6 separate regions of the Homo sapiens genome follow, and regions 1, 2, 3, 4 and 5 are each linked to region 6. The links are contacts of gene promoters, found by promoter capture Hi-C in blood cells and fetal thymus (Javierre and others, 2016). All regions are on one chromosome and are shown on one strand. Each heading gives the region's core, a stretch centred on a gene start or on the middle of the fragment in contact. The rest is flanking DNA. Distances are from core to core; before and after follow the strand shown. Region 1 overlaps CNTF (ciliary neurotrophic factor). Region 2 has its middle 19 kb from the start of CNTF. Region 3 overlaps LPXN (leupaxin). Region 4 overlaps ZFP91 (ZFP91 zinc finger protein, atypical E3 ubiquitin ligase). Region 5 overlaps LPXN (leupaxin). Region 6 holds the start of YPEL4 (yippee like 4).

What was found. The method cuts DNA at HindIII sites, captures the fragments that hold promoters and counts their contacts. A CHiCAGO score of 5 or more calls a contact.
Region 1: a fragment that was not itself captured here is called in contact with the fragment with the promoter of YPEL4 in region 6 in 5 of 17 cell types (naive CD8 T cells, total CD4 T cells, naive CD4 T cells and 2 more); the score reaches 7.6 in naive CD8 T cells.
Region 2: a contact is called between a fragment that was not itself captured here and the fragment with the promoter of YPEL4 in region 6, in 5 of 17 cell types (total CD4 T cells, naive CD8 T cells, total CD8 T cells and 2 more). The highest score is 10.6, in total CD4 T cells.
Region 3: a fragment that was not itself captured here is called in contact with the fragment with the promoter of YPEL4 in region 6 in 8 of 17 cell types (total CD8 T cells, naive CD8 T cells, total CD4 T cells and 5 more); the score reaches 11.4 in total CD8 T cells.
Region 4: a contact is called between a fragment that was not itself captured here and the fragment with the promoter of YPEL4 in region 6, in 4 of 17 cell types (naive CD8 T cells, total CD4 T cells, non-activated CD4 T cells and 1 more). The highest score is 7.5, in naive CD8 T cells.
Region 5: a contact is called between a fragment that was not itself captured here and the fragment with the promoter of YPEL4 in region 6, in 11 of 17 cell types (naive CD8 T cells, non-activated CD4 T cells, neutrophils and 8 more). The highest score is 21.4, in naive CD8 T cells.

What each region holds. Positions count from the first base shown.
Region 1 is chr11:58,623,547-58,626,664 of GRCh38, reverse strand. CNTF (ciliary neurotrophic factor) reads right to left here. Exons shown (of 2, transcript NM_000614.4): 2 at 932-2,631. The coding sequence ends at 2,143. ZFP91-CNTF (ZFP91-CNTF readthrough (NMD candidate)) reads right to left here. Exons shown (of 13, transcript NR_024091.1): 13 at 932-2,631. Among named protein-coding and RNA genes, the nearest start is that of CNTF, 2.4 kb to the right of the region's middle. The HindIII fragment of the contact is 2,434 bases long and covers 79-2,512 here.
Region 2 is chr11:58,640,550-58,643,441 of GRCh38, reverse strand. No RefSeq gene overlaps it. Among named protein-coding and RNA genes, the nearest start is that of CNTF, 19 kb to the right of the region's middle. The HindIII fragment of the contact is 4,055 bases long and covers 1-2,892 here.
Region 3 is chr11:58,550,355-58,553,217 of GRCh38, reverse strand. It overlaps LPXN (leupaxin), which reads left to right. Exons shown (of 9, transcript NM_004811.3): 5 at 1,986-2,153. Among named protein-coding and RNA genes, the nearest start is that of LPXN, 24 kb to the left of the region's middle. The HindIII fragment of the contact is 2,421 bases long and covers 227-2,647 here.
Region 4 is chr11:58,600,145-58,603,257 of GRCh38, reverse strand. All of the region lies in intron 2 of ZFP91 (ZFP91 zinc finger protein, atypical E3 ubiquitin ligase), which reads right to left. The region is part of intron 2 of ZFP91-CNTF (ZFP91-CNTF readthrough (NMD candidate)); the gene reads right to left. Among named protein-coding and RNA genes, the nearest start is that of CNTF, 21 kb to the left of the region's middle. The HindIII fragment of the contact is 3,643 bases long and covers 1-3,113 here.
Region 5 is chr11:58,568,476-58,571,697 of GRCh38, reverse strand. LPXN (leupaxin) reads left to right here. Exons shown (of 9, transcript NM_004811.3): 2 at 985-1,142. Among named protein-coding and RNA genes, the nearest start is that of LPXN, 5.8 kb to the left of the region's middle. The HindIII fragment of the contact is 6,686 bases long and covers 1-3,222 here.
Region 6 is chr11:57,648,475-57,651,555 of GRCh38, reverse strand. It overlaps YPEL4 (yippee like 4), which reads left to right and starts at 1,644. Exons shown (of 5, transcript NM_145008.3): 1 at 1,644-1,871. MIR130AHG (MIR130A host gene) reads right to left here. Exons shown (of 2, transcript NR_186232.1): 2 at 1-1,258. The HindIII fragment of the contact is 14,007 bases long and covers 1-3,081 here.

The DNA of each region.
Region 1 (3,118 bases), core at 46-2,545, 980 kb before region 6:
GCTCTAAGAGCTTCATATTAATAAGCAGAAATTTTATTATTTGAGAATGCTGCTGTTAAGCAGAATTAAGAGAAAGCTTGAATGGAATAAGACTATACATTCAGTGCCAAAATTACAAATGATCACCTCTTCCCTTCTCTCATGACTTCTCTTTTGTACTCAACCAGTACAGAGTATTTTGTAGTTTTGTACTGAGACACAACTCCTACCTCCTCCGGGAAACTACTTTGGGCCCCTCTCCTTCCTTTAGCTTCCTAACAAACCTGGGACTTATAATTTCGACTATGTGTGTGTGTGTGTGTGTGTGTGTGTGTTTGTGTGTTTACAGAATCTCTGGTATCTCCAGTGAGAACAGAGTAGGCCTCACCCTCTCCTCATGACTAAGTCCAGAGAATGTGAGGTGAAGGAGTTCTGTGACTTTTTAACTTGAGTAGTATTCCACTCACTGTCCACAAAGGCTTGGGTTACACTGTCTGCATCACTGATCACAGTAATGTACGTGTGTGTGTATACACACTCACAACCATATTGCCACAAATGCATATTAGAAAGCAGGGCCTTACTTTCCCTGAACTGTTACAATGCCTAGCCCAGAGTACTCTGGTAATAGTGACTTCATGGAGTTTTGTACACACACCCATGTGAGAAAGGATACAAGCTAAGCTACTCATCCACACCTCATGAAACCTATGGGAGTTAGCCCTGACTCATGGTTCATTTACGAATACAGAAGCCCCAGTTAATTAAATTAACTTGGTCTCCCAATCCATGATCTTGAGTTTTAATTGATAAGTATAAAATAAATGACACACTTGAAAATTTCTGGATTCACATCACACCACCAGTACATGGCCTTTTCCATTAATGTCCGCATTGACCAACCTTTCATACTATGTTGGTTCTTACAAGAAATAAAAGCAGAGCCTGCCCCTTTGTTGTGCAGCACAGAGGCTTTATTCTATAGTTTCAGAGTCTCTGGTATCTCCAGTAGGAACAGAGTGGGCCTCACCCTCTCCTCATGACTAAGTCCAGAAAATCTGAGGTGAAAGTTTGACTTTTTAACTTTAGTATTCCACTCATTGTCCACAAATGCTTGGGTTACACTGCCTGCATCACTAATTAAAAGTGAGGTAACCTGGTATAAGCCGTGCCCAACCCAATATTTGAGAACTTTTAGTGAGTACTTAAAAACCAGGCTGTATTACTAAACATCCCCAGCTTCCAAAGTTCAGAAGTTTGGCGGGCCTAATCATTTTCCAAAATGGAATCTTAAGATCTCCAGCTGCCCTCCTCACCGCCAAGTATGAACAATAAATCCTGACTTTAACGCTAAAATTTGCAACTGACTTCTGAGGACATCTAACAGCAGCTGTTTTCCAGCGATGGGAATAGATTACATGGATGCATCTTCCAACACCCTGTGACAAAGAGGTGCAGTGATTCATGATCAAGCCTCTAAAGTGAAAGGCACATAGGCTTTTACAAGGAGAATGATCTGTGTTCAAACTCAGTGTGCTACTTGTTAGCTGTGTGAGCTTAACCAAATCTCTGTGAGCCTGTTTTCTCATCTACCTAATGGGAGTAACACCACCTTGCTCACAAGGTTGTAAACGCTGTACATAATATACATAAAGACCCTTGGCATACTGCCTTAATATAGAAGATAATAAAAGTTAGCCATTATTATTCTTATTCTCTAAGAGTTTAAATCAACTAAAGAGTCTGATTTTAAATTGAATCTTCTCAGACCGAGTCATCCAGGACTAGAATTAACATATGTATATTCTGTCTGTAAGGCAGTTAAATGCCTGTAGAGGTTACTTAGTGGGTTAGAAAGGTTAGAACCCTGAAGTGGAAGGACGTTGTCCCTGCTCCCACTCTCTTACACCTGCAGCACATGCAAGCACGCACACAAATCACACCCCCCAGGCTAAACTTGTATGCCCATTTGTGTATGTCTCCAACGCTACTTGATGAAAATACCTGTAGTCCTTCAACAGGCTGCAGGTGGTCAGAGAAAAAAGAAAGAAAATGCCTGTTGTCTTAACTGTTTTTAGAAATTTAAGATGGGAAAGCGAGGCCCCAGGGAACTACGCATATTCCATTAGAAGAGAAAGCAAGGAAGAGAGAAGGGACTAACTGCTACATTTTCTTGTTGTTAGCAATATAATGGCTCCCACGTGCTGGGATCCCAGTCTGATGAGAAGAAATGAAACGAAGGTCATGGATGGACCTTACTGTCCACTGTGAAAGCTCCTGCAGCACCTTTAGGCCCCACAGCTTCTTCTCAAAGAGACCACCATCTCCAACATTAATAGGCATCCCATCAGCCTCATTGCGGGGGATCTTGTATTCCAGGAGTATCATTAACTCCTCTATCTGGTATGCAAAGGCAGCGACTTGGAGAAGAAGGGTATGTATAGCTTGATGGAAGTCACCTTCGGTTGGGGTAAAATGCACCTGCTGGTCTTCTAAGAGCCTGGCCAACAAAACATGGAAGGTACGATAAGCTTGAAGGTTCTCTTGGAGTCGCTCTGCCTCGGTCAGCTCACTCCACTGATCAGTGCTTGCCACTGGCATCCCATCCGCAGAGTCCAGGTTGATGTTCTTGTTCAGGCCCTGATGCTTCACCTGGCCGAGGATACAGGAAAACACCACATCTTCTGTCATCACCCCAGTGTCCTTAAATCACCCCTAAATTTCATACAAAATCTCACTCATCTCTCTGGCCAAGGATCCAAGTTGTAAAGTAAATAATATGTCTACAGTAGGAACTCTTAATTTGGGCTCTATGACTGGACTTTAGAAAGACCCAATACTGCCTGAAATTGACTACCTATGGATTTTTCTTAGAAGAATGTTCAGATTTTATTGAGTTCTAAAGGTTGAAAACTGATTTAGAAGAATTTTTCCTTCTCACTTCAAACTCTCTCATTAACTGGAATATTTTAATCATATTAAAGTATTTTTAAACATACTTGTAAAAGACACTGGCCACAACTAGGAAAACTTGGAATATAGCCATTGTAGAATTTCTCTAACTTCCCTCTCCCCATTGAGCACTCCCAAAGAGTCTGATTTCTGTCTGGTGAGGCTGTACAAAGATAAATCAGTTCTC
Region 2 (2,892 bases), core at 222-2,721, 990 kb before region 6:
ATAATGAATAATCGAGCCATTTTTCCATGTAACGGTCACTGGAATGGTAAAGTTATGCTAGTGAAGACAGTGTTATAGTAATGTCACGTTGATGTAGAAGCTCTGTAGGGCGTAGATAGTTTTAGTTCTCAGAACTCGTCTTCTAAAGTTCCATACATTGAAACCCAAAACCTCTATTTTTAACAGGCTTAATTGGGAGCCAATGCTATAAACAACGAGCCACTGCAGGTTTTTGTCTCAGAGTTTGCCATGATCCCAGCTGTCCTTCAGGAGATGGGAATACTTGTTGGAAGGTTGCAGAAATTACCTAGAGAACATATAACGATGGTATGAATTATGAGTCTCGAGGACATGGTTAATTTAGTGATGCTAGTCATGGCTTTTCTCTGTCTCTGTCTCTGTCTCTCCCTGCTAGTTCTCTGCATCTCTTTCATGAGTCTGGGTCTTCTCCACGCTAAATACTGAGAGTATATATATCCATTGTCAAGTGAGGCAGACCCATGAGAAATCCTTAAGAAAAAGTATCTCAAGAAAGACAGGAAGACTGCAGGAAGCAAGGGATTGCCAGGTGCCTAGTAGTTTCTTTAAACCTACAAGTTTATTGTTCAGGTGATCTTCTCCTGTGTATGTTGGGGTAGAGATGAGGTGCACAAGGAGAGAATAGAAGTTATTTGGAGATTTAACTCAGAATTGCCCTCAGATTGAATCGAGGATGAGAAAGGTCTCAAGACCCTATATGGGATTGAGAACTAAAATTTAAACCTTAAGCACCCACCCCAACCAATTGAACAGACTCTCTCTTGGCCAAGGAGACCTCAGAGAAACCTTAAAAATGGAGTTCCTGGCCATAAGGAGACAAGAGATCACACAAGCCTCGTTATATCCTCTCCCTTTTGTATACAGACACACCAACTGACCAGCATGAATGTTAAAATAGAGATCATATGACTGACAGAACAGACTCTTTGTGGCAGTAAGATATCCAATTATAAACAGGACCTACGCCCATGTCAGGCAAAGGTTAAGTCACGCACCCCTACACTTAAAGAATAAACTTTGTTTTAACTGCCACAAGGTTTTTCTTTCTTAAGCAGCTCAACAAGCACTGGCCTCAAGGAAAGCAATATTAAAATAACTGCAGCTCATTCACCACCATGTGCTGACTAACCGACCTCCTGTTCCACAAGCCATAACTACAGCTTTGATTAGACAAGAAAGAGATTTCAGTAACTTTCCTGGTAAAAGACCACCGACTATGGACTGGTTCTGGTCGGTTTTATAGAGGCTTTGCACTTGAGAACATTTATGTCCCTGTTTTATCTTCTGAAATATAGACAGCCTCATTGTAATAAATTTAAATGTTAAGTACCCTCTCCAATATGAACATAGATCATTTGTAGCATGCATGTTTATTCAGTATGCATGCATCAGAAACCACTTGGTGAATATTCATAGCTTCTCCTGTAACCTGTTGAATATGTATATTTAGCCAACCTATGTAGCATAAAGCTCCTGCCTCAACCCCTCCTTCTTCAAAGTACTGCCTTTCGGTCTCTGTTGAAGGTACACTTCTCAGCCTGTCAGGATGACCATTGGCAGGCTATAACCCTTTATGAGAAATAAAGTCCTGTGTCCAAATCTGCATAGATCTCATGATTTTTCTGTTGGCAAAATTCAGGATCCCTGGGCTACCCCTGACATTAAATTATAAGCCCACTAGACTAAAAGTCCCTCAGACCCCTCAGCCTATCTGTCCCTTAATTAGTATAATCATGGTTAAGTTACTTTTTGTGCCTCTCCTCCTCACATTCACAGATGTTTACAGGAAAAAAAAAAAAAAAGTCAAGGAGATTAAGTCACTTGCCCAGGGTCTGAGAGCCACTAAGCGCAGAGCCATATCTCGAGTCCAGTTCTGTTGAACTCCAATAAACATCTCCTTTCTATTTCCTTCATTTTCTATTATTGCCTCTTCTCCTTTCACAGGGCTCTGATTGTAAAAATATATAGGCAGATAACACTGCAGTTGATAACATTACACTTCTATTGAAAGAAGTTTTTCTTCCTTTGCGATATTATTTCAGATCACTTTGCATCCTCATTTATTCATTCATGGATTCCTTCCCAGCCATCCGTGGAGAGATATGTAGGGTGTGAAATGAGACTCCTACATGCAGGGCCAATATTTAGCCAGTAACCTCAGGAAGGTCATTTGCAGCCAATGTTAGTTCTGATTGGCTGGGGCTGCAACTTGCAGAGTAGTAAATATTTTGACTATTGCCCTTGACTATCTGCCAGAATAATTGTCTGCATTTGTATCCCCTATGGTGCTCAATTAGAATGCACACAGCCCAAGAGAGTGAGGCAGGGTAGGAGGCGGTCTGAGTCTGGAAATACAGGCAAGAGACACAGGGTCAGGGCCATCTCTGCTCCAATCTGTCTTTGTGTGACCTTGTGCACATCACTTCTTTTCTCTGGGAATCAGCTTCTCCATAGGCAAAAGTATATATGGCCTGGCACTATTATATTTTTGTAAAAGAAAGTAGTATGTGCCTATGTGCCTGGGTCCATGTGTGCACACATAGAAACATGTCTGGAAGGTGACACACCTCCTATTTACAGTGGTTATCTCTGGGAAGCACAGCTGGATGAAGAAGGTATTTTTTACCTTATATAACCTCTTTACACTTTTAATTTTCCATAACAAGCATGTGTTGTAATTTTTTTAAGTTAACAGCTAAAAAGTCCTGTTTGTTCCTGTTTTACAGGAAGTCACACTTCTTTTCTAAGGTCACATGAGGACTTGGCATCTGACTCTGAAGACTGTCTTGCCTGCATCGTCCTTACACTGCCTCTGAACAATTGGGGGATGTGAGTACTGGGCACCAAATGATG
Region 3 (2,863 bases), core at 188-2,687, 900 kb before region 6:
ATTACAGGCGTGTGCCACCATGCCCAGCTAATTTTTGTATTTTTAGTAGAGACGAGGTTTTGCTATGTTGCCCAGACTGGTCTCAAACTTCTAAGCTCAGGCCACCTGTCTGCCTCGGCCTCTCAAAGTACTAGGATTACAGGCATGAACCACTGTGCCCGGCCCCATTTATCTTTTGAATAAGCTGCACTTTCACATTGTACACAAATCAAAAGTGCAAAAAGCTTGCACTGAACTGTTTCCTTCTCAGCTCTGCACCCTAGCCATCCAGTTCTGCCCCACCGGAGATAGGCAGAATTTCCTGTCTCTTCTATATCTGTTCAGAAGTATTCTGGAAGATAACAGTGAAGAGATAGAGATGTAGGTGTAGATGTAGTTATATTGTATTTTTACTTATTTTTCATAATTAATGTCAGTCACCCTTTCAGACCTTTCAGACACTAACCTTCTGAACACTAACCTCTTGAATATTAACTAACATATATTAGAGAAGGAAGGATGTCTGTCAGATGATCAAAATGTCTCGAAGCAAAATGAGCATTTTGATTGGTGACAGTGTGATGTTATAACAGGCAGTAAAAGTAGGATAAGTAGAGGTCTTAAGGCAGACAGTAACAGATCACATTCAGGAGATGAAGAGCCCAGCTGTCCTTTTACAACATAGTATTAATAAAAGATGAAATTGGGAAAGATAAAAAGGGAGGACAGTGGATGGGAGGCTTTGAATGTCTGTCTGATGAGTGAAGACTTGATGTGGTGGCAATGGAGAGCCATTGTAGTTTTCTGATGAGTGAAGTATTCAGTAGATAGATGGTAGCAGTCGCCCAGCTGGAAAGGAGTAGAGAGAGCCAGAATCAGGTTATGAGGTTATGAAGGGTCAGTTAGCCTTTTTTTTTTTTCTTTTAATTTGAGGATCCTTCTTTGAATGGTTTATAATAATTTTGGGCTTTTGCTTAAATAATTCCAATCCATCAACAAGTCTTATCTGACCACTTCTCACCACCTTCTCCTGTAATACTGATCTAAGTCATTATCTGAAAATCTCCCTGTATTCACTCTTGCTTGTCAACACTTAGTTCTCCACTCAGCTACCACAGGGATCCTCCAGATTCCTTCACTCCTGTGCTTGAAATCCTGCAATGGCTTCCATCACCTTGGAATAAAACCCAAGCGTTTACCATGAGGTTCCTATGTGATCTTTGCCTCTCTCTCCATCACCTTCTCCTGCCGTGTTCAATCTCACTCCCTCTGCTCTAGCCCCACTGACCTCTTTGACTTTTCTTCTAATGTGCCAAGTTGTTTTATTCCTCGGGGCCTTCCCTTCCCCTAGAATGCTTTTCCCATAAATGTCAATATTTCTAAGTCCCAAGTATCTACTCAAATATTACTTCCTTAGAGGGGCCTTCTTTGATTATTACCTCCATCTAAATCAATTCTTCTTACCATCTTGCTGTGTCCCTTCTATCTCTTTCTATAACTTATCTCTGTCTGACATTACAACATATATTTATTTATTTAATTATTTATTGTCTATCGCCCACAGAATGCAATTCCATGAGGCCAGACACTTGGTCTGTCTTATCTTTGCTTTAATCCAAGTGCTTAGAGCAGTGATTGGCACAAACCAGGTATTCAACAATTATTGCCAAATAAATGAGTAAAAGGGAGATGTGACTAATTTTTGAACTGGGGTCATCCTAAGATCTTCAAAGGGTATCATCTTCATGTACTAAATTTCCTACATTAAGAAAAGATTTACAAATATAAAATTAGTCAGATTTCATTTGGCCTGAGGAGTTTAGGATGAAAGGGAGATGAAAAGATTTTTATTGGTGTTGAAATTTTAGATTTTTCCAATGTCTTGCAGGAAGGTTGGGGAAAGGCCAAGAGATCAGTCAGTAGAGGTGAATTTATAGAGTCATTAGAAGATGCCAATGAGAATAAAAATGAGGCTGATTCTGTTCTTGGTTCTTCCCTTGGGCCAGGTTGCAGTGAGAGCAGATGCTGGCAAGAAGCACTTACCAGACAAGCAGGATCACAAGGCCTCCCTGGACTCAATGCTTGGGGGTCTGGAGCAGGAATTGCAGGACCTTGGCATTGCCACAGTGCCCAAGGGCCATTGTGCATCCTGCCAGAAACCGATTGCTGGGAAGGTGAGATGGGCTGAAATTTTGGTCCTACAGCCTTCTTTGTCTCTCTCTGTCTCATCAAGGTTTGCTCTTTCCCCTTATATTTTAAGATATTTTAGTTAGCATTAATAATTACTAATCACTTACAGTGCTCTGGCCACTGAGCTAAGTGCTTTACAAGTATTTCCTCATTTAATGGTCACATCAGCCCTTCAAGAAGAATGATTGCTCCCTTTGTAAAGATGAGGAAACTGAGGACTCAGAGACATTAATGGACATATCCAAGGCATAATAAGAGGTAGAGGTAAGATCTGAAACCAGGAGACTGTCTCCTGAGTTTGAGTTCTTGACCATTTTTCTGTACTGCCTTTACTGAGATGACCTTTCTCACTGCTCCCTTTGTTCACACATTCCCAGTCTAAATTGATTGATTACAATTTTCAGCTGAACTCAGCTCCAAGTCACAGCTGCAAACTCCTGTTCTGCATCGTCCTTCACCGAAGCTATGATAAAAAGCTTTGAGACCTGACTGCATGGGGCGTGGAATAAAGTGTTCAAACTAGAGGAATAAAAACTGTCATTTGGCCTTTTCCTCTTCCAGGGGTCCCTTCCACACTAAGGCTACAGTTACAACTTCTCTGTCATCAATGTGCTATATGTTGTTTCTGCCACCCCCTGTGGCAGTGCAGTGGTTGTGAACATTTACAGGCTTTCATCACAGTGATCAGTCCCGG
Region 4 (3,113 bases), core at 101-2,600, 950 kb before region 6:
ACACATTAGTATATAAGCAAGAAGAAACAAGGCTATACCTTCTACACGTTGTTTGTAAATCTACTCAGATAAATATCCAAGTTCATTGCTTACCCAATGATAGAACACAATTCAGTCAAGTTCTCTGCAACTTTATAACAAGGATCACCTTTTCTCCACTGTCCAATAACATGTTCATCATTTCCTTCTAAGGCCTCATCAGACTGCCTTTAACACTCATATTTCTGTTGACCATCTCTTCAAGGCAATCTACGCTGTTTTTTCTTTTCTTTTTTTTTGAGACAGAGTTTCACTCTTGTTGCCCAGGCTGGAGTGCAACGGCGCAATCTTGGCTCACCGCAATCATCGCCTCCTAGGTTCAAGCAATTCTCCTGCCTCAGCCTCCCGAGTATAGCTGGGATTAGAGGCATGCACCATACCTCAAAATACTCAAAGCCAATATCCATTACCCAATCCCAAAGCTATGCCAACATTTTTAGGTACTTTTTCATAGCCCACTTCCAATACCAAAATGTATTAGTTTCCTAGGGCTGCCATAACAAATTACCACAAAAGCCTATTTACTACAAAGCCCCTATTTCTCAATGTTCCATTCACAGGTACCTGAGTTAAGACTTCAACATCTTTTGAGGAAAGCAATTCAACTCGTAAAGGTGGCCCTACTAATATCAGGCAAAATGCACTTCAACAACTGTTACAAAACACAAAGAACATTATACGTTAATGAGAGGGTCAATCAATCTAGAAAATATAATAAATATAAACCTATACATAGCTAACACAGGCCCCCTCTCCCTCTCCCCCCATCTCTCTCTCGAGATATATCAACATATAACATACATAGCAAAGATTTACAGAACTGAAGAGAAACAGGTAATACCACAATCACAAAAATGGAGACATCTGTATCCCACTTTCAATAACAGAACCAAACACCAGTCAGAAGTTTGATAAGGAAATACAGAACTCAAGCAAAATTAAAAAATTAGACATATTAGACAAAATTAGACATAATGTTAAAAAACAGACATATTGGGCCAGGCGCAGTGGCTCACACCTGTAATCCCAACACTTTGGGAGGCTGAGGCAGGCAGATCACCTGAGGTCAGGAGTTTGAGATCAGCCTGGCCAACATGGCGAAACCCTGTCTCTACTAAGAATACAAAAATTAGCCGGGCATGGTGGCGTGTGTCTGTAGTCCCAGCTACTCGAGGACGCTGAGGCAGGAGAACTGCTTGAACCCAGGAGGTGGAGGTTGCATTGAGCCAAGATCACACCACTGCACTCCAGCCTGGGCGATAGAACGAGACTCCATCTTGGGGGAAAAAAAAAATTCACAGACATATTGAAAAGTCTCAATAAATTTCAAATGGCTGCAGTCATATAAAGTACGTTCTCTCTGACCACAATTGAATGAAACTAGAAATCAATATCAGAAGGAAAACTAGAAAACTCACAAATACATGAAAATTAACACACTGTTAAACCAATGGATCAAAGAATAAATCACAAGGAAAATTACAAAATACTTAGAGATGACTGAAAATGAAAACAAAATATCCCAAAACCTAGGGGATGCAGTGAAAGCAGTTCTCAGAGTAAAATTTCTAGATATAAATGCCTACATTAAAATAGAAAAAAAAAAAAATCACATGCCTGAATCAATAACCTAACATCATACCCATAAGAGCTAGGAAAAAAGGAGCAGAGTAAACCCAAAGCTAGCAGAATAAAGTAAATAAGTTGGTTCTTTGACAAGATAACAAAATCAACAAACTTTTGGTTAATAAGAGAAGACCCAAATTACTAAAACCAGAAATGAAAATGGGACACTACCACTGAAATAAACATAAGAAAACACAATGAACAACTGTTTGCCAACAAATAACATAGATGAAATCAACAACTTCTTAGGCACACACAAATTACCAAAAACAATTCAACAAGAAATGGAAAAGATGAACATATCTTTAACAAGTAGACAACTGAGTCAGTAAACAAAAAGCTCCCAATAAAAAGGCCAGAAGCCTCTAGATGGTTTCATTGGTTGATTCTACCACACATTTAAAGAATTAACTCCAGTCTTCCTCAAACTCTCTTAAAAAATAGAAGATGGAACACTTCCCAACACATCCTATAAACACAGCATTATTCTGACACCAAAGCCAGACAAAGACACCACAAAAAACCATAAGCCAATATCCCTTGCAAACCAAATATAGCATCATATTAAGAAGATTAAACACTATAATCAATTGAGACAGGTCCCAGGATTATGAGGGTGGTTCGATATACAAAAACATATGTAATATCCCACATTAATAAAGAGAGGAAAAAACACACCATTATCTCAATTGATGTAGAAAAAAGAAAAAGAACCTGACAAAATTAAACTTTCATGATAAGAACACACAAAAAACTGGGAATAGAATTGAACTTCCTCAACTTGACAAAGAACACCTTTAAAAACCCCAGAGCTCACATCATACGCAGTGGTAAAAGACAAAGCTCTCCTGCTAAGGTCAGGAACAAGACAAGGATGCCCTCATTCTTCACTTCCATTCAACACTGTACTGGAAGTTCTAGCCAAGTAATTACTCAAGTAAAAAAAGAGGCACCCAAAGTGAAAAGGAAGAAGTAAAACTGTATCTCTATTTGCAGGTGAAAAGACCTTACATATAGAAAATTCTAAAGAATTTTCACAAAAGAAAACTGTTAAAGGTCATATACAAATTCGAAGGGCCAGAATATAATACCAACACGTAACATTCATTGTTTTAAGCATATTAGCAATGAACAAAAAGGAAATTAAGAAAATAATTATTACCTTTATTCAAAGTGCCAGAATATATGACCAACATATAACATTCATTGTTTTAAGTATATTAGCAATGAACAAAAAGGAAATTAAGAAAATGATTACCTTTACAATAGAATAAAAAGGAATAAAATATTGAAAAATTGTTAAGATGACAATACTCTGAAAATAAACCCACAGATTAACTGTAATTCTTATCAAAACCCCAGCTTCCTTTTTGGTAGAAATTGACAACCCAATCCTAAAGTTCACAGGAAAATGCAAGGGATCTACACTAGTCACAGCCATCTTGAAA
Region 5 (3,222 bases), core at 367-2,866, 920 kb before region 6:
ACTAGTATATAATACTTTTCCAAAAAAAAAAAAAGAAAAAAAACTGAAAGAGTAACAAATCCCAACTATTTAAATTGCAACATCTTACTTGATTTTGCAATATCTCAGTTTTATCCCCAACCATTTTTTCTCTCCACACCCTAAAAGACAGGATACTTATACCTTGCTTTGAAAATTTTGTTACGTGCTCAGGATAATTGTTAAGATTTAAGAAAAAATATCATTAGGATTAAGAATAAGTGTTATTTCCCTCGTATGTTTTGAAAAATGGTAATATAATTGCTTCTATTTTTCTGATAGAAAAAAGCATTTAGGATTTATTTATTTATTTATTTATTTATTTATTTATTTATTTTTTGAGACAGGGTATCACTCCTTTGGCCCAGGCTGCTGGAGTGTGGTGGCGTGATCTCGACTCATCGCAGGCTCACCTAGGCTCAGGTGATCCTCCCACCTCAGCCTCCCAAGTAGCTGGGACCACAGGTGTGCATCACCATGCTGGGCTGACTTTTTTGTATTTTTCATACAGACTGGATTTTGCTATGTTGCCCTGGTCTGGAACTCCTAGGCTCAAGGGATCCTCCCGCCTCAGCCTTCCAAAGTGCTAAGATTATGGGCATAAGCCACTATACCCAGCCCAGTTTTATTTTTTTCTAATTAAGGATATTTGTGGGGAATCTACCCTAAATGAATGATGAAAATTAATACCTGTGGTATAAAAAATCAAATTATAGCATGAGACTATGAAATTGAATGCAACCATAGAAAATAAGAAACAAACCACAATTTATGGAGGTGTTAAACATTTCTTGGTAGGATTCACCACATTCTTGAAGTGAAATAAGGAATAAGGGAAAGTATTTGAAAATAGCCATAATTGAAGAAAAGGAGATGAATGTGGGCACAGTGAAGATATTTAAGGAGAAAATGACTGTAGGGATTTAAATATTCTCTGTCATGATTCTCTTGCTTCTTATGGTGTAGATGCCTTATTGGAGGAACTGGAACGCTCCACCCTTCAGGACAGTGATGAATATTCCAACCCAGCTCCTCTTCCCCTGGATCAGCATTCCAGAAAGGAGACTAACCTTGATGAGACTTCGGAGATCCTTTCTATTCAGGATAACACAAGTCCCTTGCCGGTAAATTTTCATTTATTATAGTCCTTAAACATGGATGTTTGAGTGCATTTCTGAAAATTAACAGAATCCCACATAAAATAATATGAAAGGAGAATAATATATCCAAGAAAGAGAAAAAATAATGCCTCAATGTTAATCTAAAGATGTTTTTGGAAAGAGGAAGAGAATTGAGAAAATCATCACAGAGGAATGAGTTTTTGAGAACTAAATTTTTTTTATTTTTTTTATTTTTTTTATTTTTTTTTTATTTTTTGAGACAGAGTCACACTCTGTCTCCAAGGCTGGAGTGCAGTGGCACAATCTCGGCTCACTGCAACCTTCACCTCCCAGGTTCAAGCGATTCTCCTGCTTCAGCCTCCCAAATAGCTAGGATTACAGGCACGCACCACCATGCCCAGCTAATTTTTGTATTTTTAGTAGAGACGGGTTTTGTCATGTTGGCCAGGCTGGTCTCAAACTCCTGACCTGAGGTGATTCACCCGCCTTGGCCTCCCAAATTGCTGGGATTACAGGCATGAGCCATCACGCCCAGCCGAGAACTACATTTTTTCTAATGAGCACATGGTCACAGGCAGAGTATTGCATTCACTGGGGATATTCTGATGTTACTGTGGGGGCATCAGAGATGCCTGTTGCAGTTTGACTGGAATGGTACTCAGGCCAGAGATCACCTGAGGAAGGCCAGGTGGCAGCATAGACAAGTCTTCTCAGGGTGACTTTTTAGGGTCACTACTTCCCAGGTCTTATTTTCTGCTGAATAGATTAGGAGATTCAATTATTAGTTTATATAGAGATGATGAAGCTCTAGGGAACCAACTCAAACTAACCAAATTGACAAGTGATTATATATATATTTTAAAAACCTAGGGCAGGTGCAGTGGCTCAGGCCTGTAATTTCAGCACTTTGGAAGGCTGAGGCGGGGGGATCACTTGAAGCCAGGAGTTTGAGACCAGCCTGGGCCATATGGTGAGACCCCCATCTCTACGAAAAATTAAAAAATGAGCAGGGTGTGGTGGTGCGTGCCTATGGTCCCCGCCACTCAGGTGGCTGAAGCAGGAGGATTGCTTAAGCCCAGGTGGTCGAGGCTGCAGTGAGCTATGATTGCGCCACTCCATCCCAGCCTGGGCGACAGAATGAGAGCTTGTCTCAAAAAACAAACAAACAAAAAAAAAACAAAACTCAGAAATCAAATTTACAGTTAAAGCTATCAAGTAAAACAGCTATATTTACTCATATATGCATTCTCTTCCTATGGATAAGTCTATATGGACGTACATTATAATTAAAAGGTTGCTTGATGAGAATGGAATTAGTGTAAGATGAATTAAGTAGATGCTCTTCATAGCTGGTAATTTTGTACTATGATATTTTGATTCATCATTGTTCCCTGTATGAAATAGCCAGAAGCACAGACCTGAAATTTGAGCTCAGGGGTAGTTTACGCCCTAACTGTTCTTTTCTCCAGACACATACACAATTTTAACGATACGAATTTATCTCTCTACTAGGGAACTATTGTCTTTGTTCTCAGTGTTAGATTATAGCTGTAGGCTCCTAAGTGGTCTCCTGCCCTTTGCCCCACTGCAGTCTGTTCTCAAGCAGCCAGGGTCACCTTTAAAAACTAAAGTCAGACCCTGTCATTCTTCTACTCAAAACCCCAAAATGACTCCCATCTCATTTGGAGTAAAAGCCATAGTTTCATGTTGATCTTTCTGGGGTGACCATATATCCTGGTTTACCTGAAAGAGTCCTGGGTTTATGCTTGTTTTTCTCACATCCTATTAACTTTACTTTTTACCCCAGATCTTCAATTTTATTTAAAGTTTTCTTATCAGTATTTGCATTAAGTAAGCCACTATGGCTTAACAGACCTCCTTCCAGCTTCTTCCATGGTCTCATCTAGCAGCGTATGAAACACATATTCAGTGAACAGTGCTCTTTTTTTTTTTTTTGAGATGGAGTCTCTTTCTGTCGTGCAGGCTGGAGTGCAGTGGTGCAATCTTGGCTCACTGCCACCTCTGCCTCCCAGGTTCAAGTGATTCTCCTGCCTCAGCCTCCTGAGTATCTGGGACTACAGGC
Region 6 (3,081 bases), core at 395-2,894:
TGACTCAAATGTTAATCGCCTTTGGCAATACCCTCACAGACACACCCAGGAACAATACTTTGCATCTTTCAATCCAATCTAGTTGACAATATTAACCATCACCAGTCCACCCCTTGTCAACTTGAACCCATACACGTCTCCTGAAATCATACATGATCTTCAAATAAAGACAATAATAAGGTCATAATTACGCTTAACATAATACAGCTATCCTTTGTACAACCGGAAACGCACCAATCCCCAACCCAAATGCTATTACATAGAGTTAACAACACTTAAGTGCTGATATCAAGTCAGTAAGTCTTATGTCACATGATAAAGGCAAAAGAAAGGAAATAAAATGAAGATATTTTCTTAATACAAGTGTATATATGCACAAACATGTTCCTAACAAAAGGAGGAGGAAATACTCATGACAATTACAGTCCTCATTTTCTGCAGCTGGTCACATGGTCATAGTTCGTATTGATGACTACCTTCTTTGACTACCCATTCTGAATTCCGTTTGCCTTCAGCAAGCACCTCAGCAGATTATGTTTTTTTTACCTGGTGGAGTGACCCAAACCTTCATTCCTGAAGGGTCTGGGCCATTTGTCATCCTGCCTGGATTGGGCTGTTGCAGTTTCCCATTGACCTTAATCACAGGGCATGGTAATATTAAGAGACGCCCTACGTGATCTCCTGTATTCCACGCATACTTCCTTACCGCCATTGTGGAGTAGTAGACTGATTTCATCTTGATAGTCTGGGTCAAACACTGTAACTCCCTTCTTAGCAAGTTGGCTTAAAAGTAAGAAGAGCCCAAAGTGGCCAGGTGGCAATCTTAACTTCCAGTTTAATGGAATCATTGTTGTGTCTCTTGGTGGCAGCATTCCTCCCTCTGGAACTAAGACCTCTAGGCCAGCAGAACATAATGCCGCGGAAACAACTGCTATTTTGGAAACATCTAAATGCACGGGTCTGCACTGGACATTGCAGTCCTGGGATGTAGAGAGTAATTTCCCAGAAGGCCTGTCTCAGGAAGTTTACAGCCCAATAGAGAACTTCATATAACGTAGGTGTCTCCATTCATGAAGCACGCATAATATGGAGGTAGCTGTTAAGGGGTTCCTGCATGCAAAATGTCACATTGGGTCTATTACTCCTTCAGGAGTATTAAACCAAGGCTTTGAGGCTTGGTACAAGTTTGGGGGCACAGTTTGCCATCCATGACAATTAGTACATCTGTCTTTTCCCTGCTTCAGGGCTGGTGTCCAAGCTGAAATGGGAAAGTGTATCATCTTAAATGTGTGTGTGCTCCCTCACTCTGCATCCATCTCTTCCTTCACCAGCCTTGCCACCTCCTTTCCTCCAGCCCTGCCACCCTCACTGCATCCTTGCCCAGCCCTGTCCTTCCCCCAGGTTCTTCGTATCTCCTTGGCCCCACTGCCTTCCTCCTTAACAACCTGCCTCTCCCCTTGCCCACCATCGCCGCCTTGTCCCTCGGCCCCCACTCCTCTAGCCCCGTCCCTTGATGCCTACCCCCTCCCTTCCTTCCGACCCGCCTCCTGTGTCTCCCAGCCCTGCTCTGACGTGGGAGGTGAGGGGGGGTGGGGGGGATGGATGACTCACAGTGTTATGATGCAGTTCCACAACACACAGCCACATTCACCCACAGACCGAGGTACAGAACGAGAGACAACCTCTGCCCCCCCAGCAGCTGGCCAGCTTTGCAGCCCCAGTCTTGAGCCCCCAACTACCCTCCCCCCACCCACCCCCATCCCCTTCCCAATTGAAGGAGCGGAAAGAGAAGAGAGAAGAGTGAGCAGAGAGATTGAGAGATTGAGAGAGAGAGAGAGAGATAGACGGAGATCTCTGGAGCAGACCTCAAGGTGAGGGGGCAGCCCTTCTCCAAATGAATTTTTTTCTCTTTGCAAATTTCCTCCTCCTGCTGCGTGTTGCTTTCTCCCCTTTGCAAAAGCATTATTCATCCACCCTTTGTCCTCCCTTCCCCCTCCCCGCTGCCTCCGCTCCTCTCTCTCGGTTCCTCCATCCCTCTCCAAGCTCTGACGATTCCCGCACTTATTTCCCGGCAACTTTGGCTGCAGCATCAGGCATCACTGTTTATTGTTTTGCTGCTGGTGCAGACCCCCAAAGCCTGCCCTGGGAGCTGGCGGTGCTGCTAATTATTTGGACCATACCATACTGAGAATACCAGCCTGGGGGGTGCCAAAACCTCAGAGCAGATGAGAAAATCCATTGTGAGCAGGTGTCCCCCCCCTTTTCTTTTCCCCCCTGAGAAGCACGAGATTCGCACCTGGTTCCTCCAGCCTCCGCCTCGGCGCCTCTGCTGTCAGCTGTCAGTTGCCCCCGCCAGCCCTCCCTCTCCCCTTTCTCCTACGGTCCAGCCCCGTCTCACTTCAGGGGAACATCTCTCCCCAGCACTCGGCTTGCCTTTGTTTTTTCTCCAGTCATTTGCCCAACTTGCTTCTCCCTGTGATCCGAGATGGGTGAAAAAATGACCCCTACTCCCCTTTGTGATTCTCTGGCCTTCTGTGCAGCCTTTCCTTGGCTTGACTGGGAATTAGGGGAGAGGGAGGGAGGCGTGACGGCCGGAGGCTGGAGAAGGAGCTCAGGATTGGGGACCCAAGCTGCCCCATTCTCCATGCCCCTTGAAGAAGGTGTTTCAAGGTGGTGCATGTCAGAGGGGAACTCGCTGGCAAAGTTGAAGGCAAACCTGTGAAGCAGAGACTGAAAGGTGGTCTCTTGGCAAGGAGGGCCCGTTTCCTGCAGCCGGAGCCCAATGTCACCCTGAACTCAGCCCAAGGTGTCTTCCTGGGACCCAGCCCGGAGGAGAGGACCTGAAACTGAAGATAGTCTCTATGGAGGTTTTGCGGAGAGACTGCCTGGCGGCCTTCAGAGAGAGTGGAACAGCTGGGTGCCTGTGGCCACTGCGGAGGACAGGACGAGGAGAGCCTGTATGCCCTGGCTAACCAGAGCCAACACTGCCTCTTCTCTGCTTAGTGCTCTAGCATTGCCAGAGTGCCCAGCTGGCATCTCTGAACCAGACTTAGGCTAACCACCCACAGTGGGCTGGGAAGC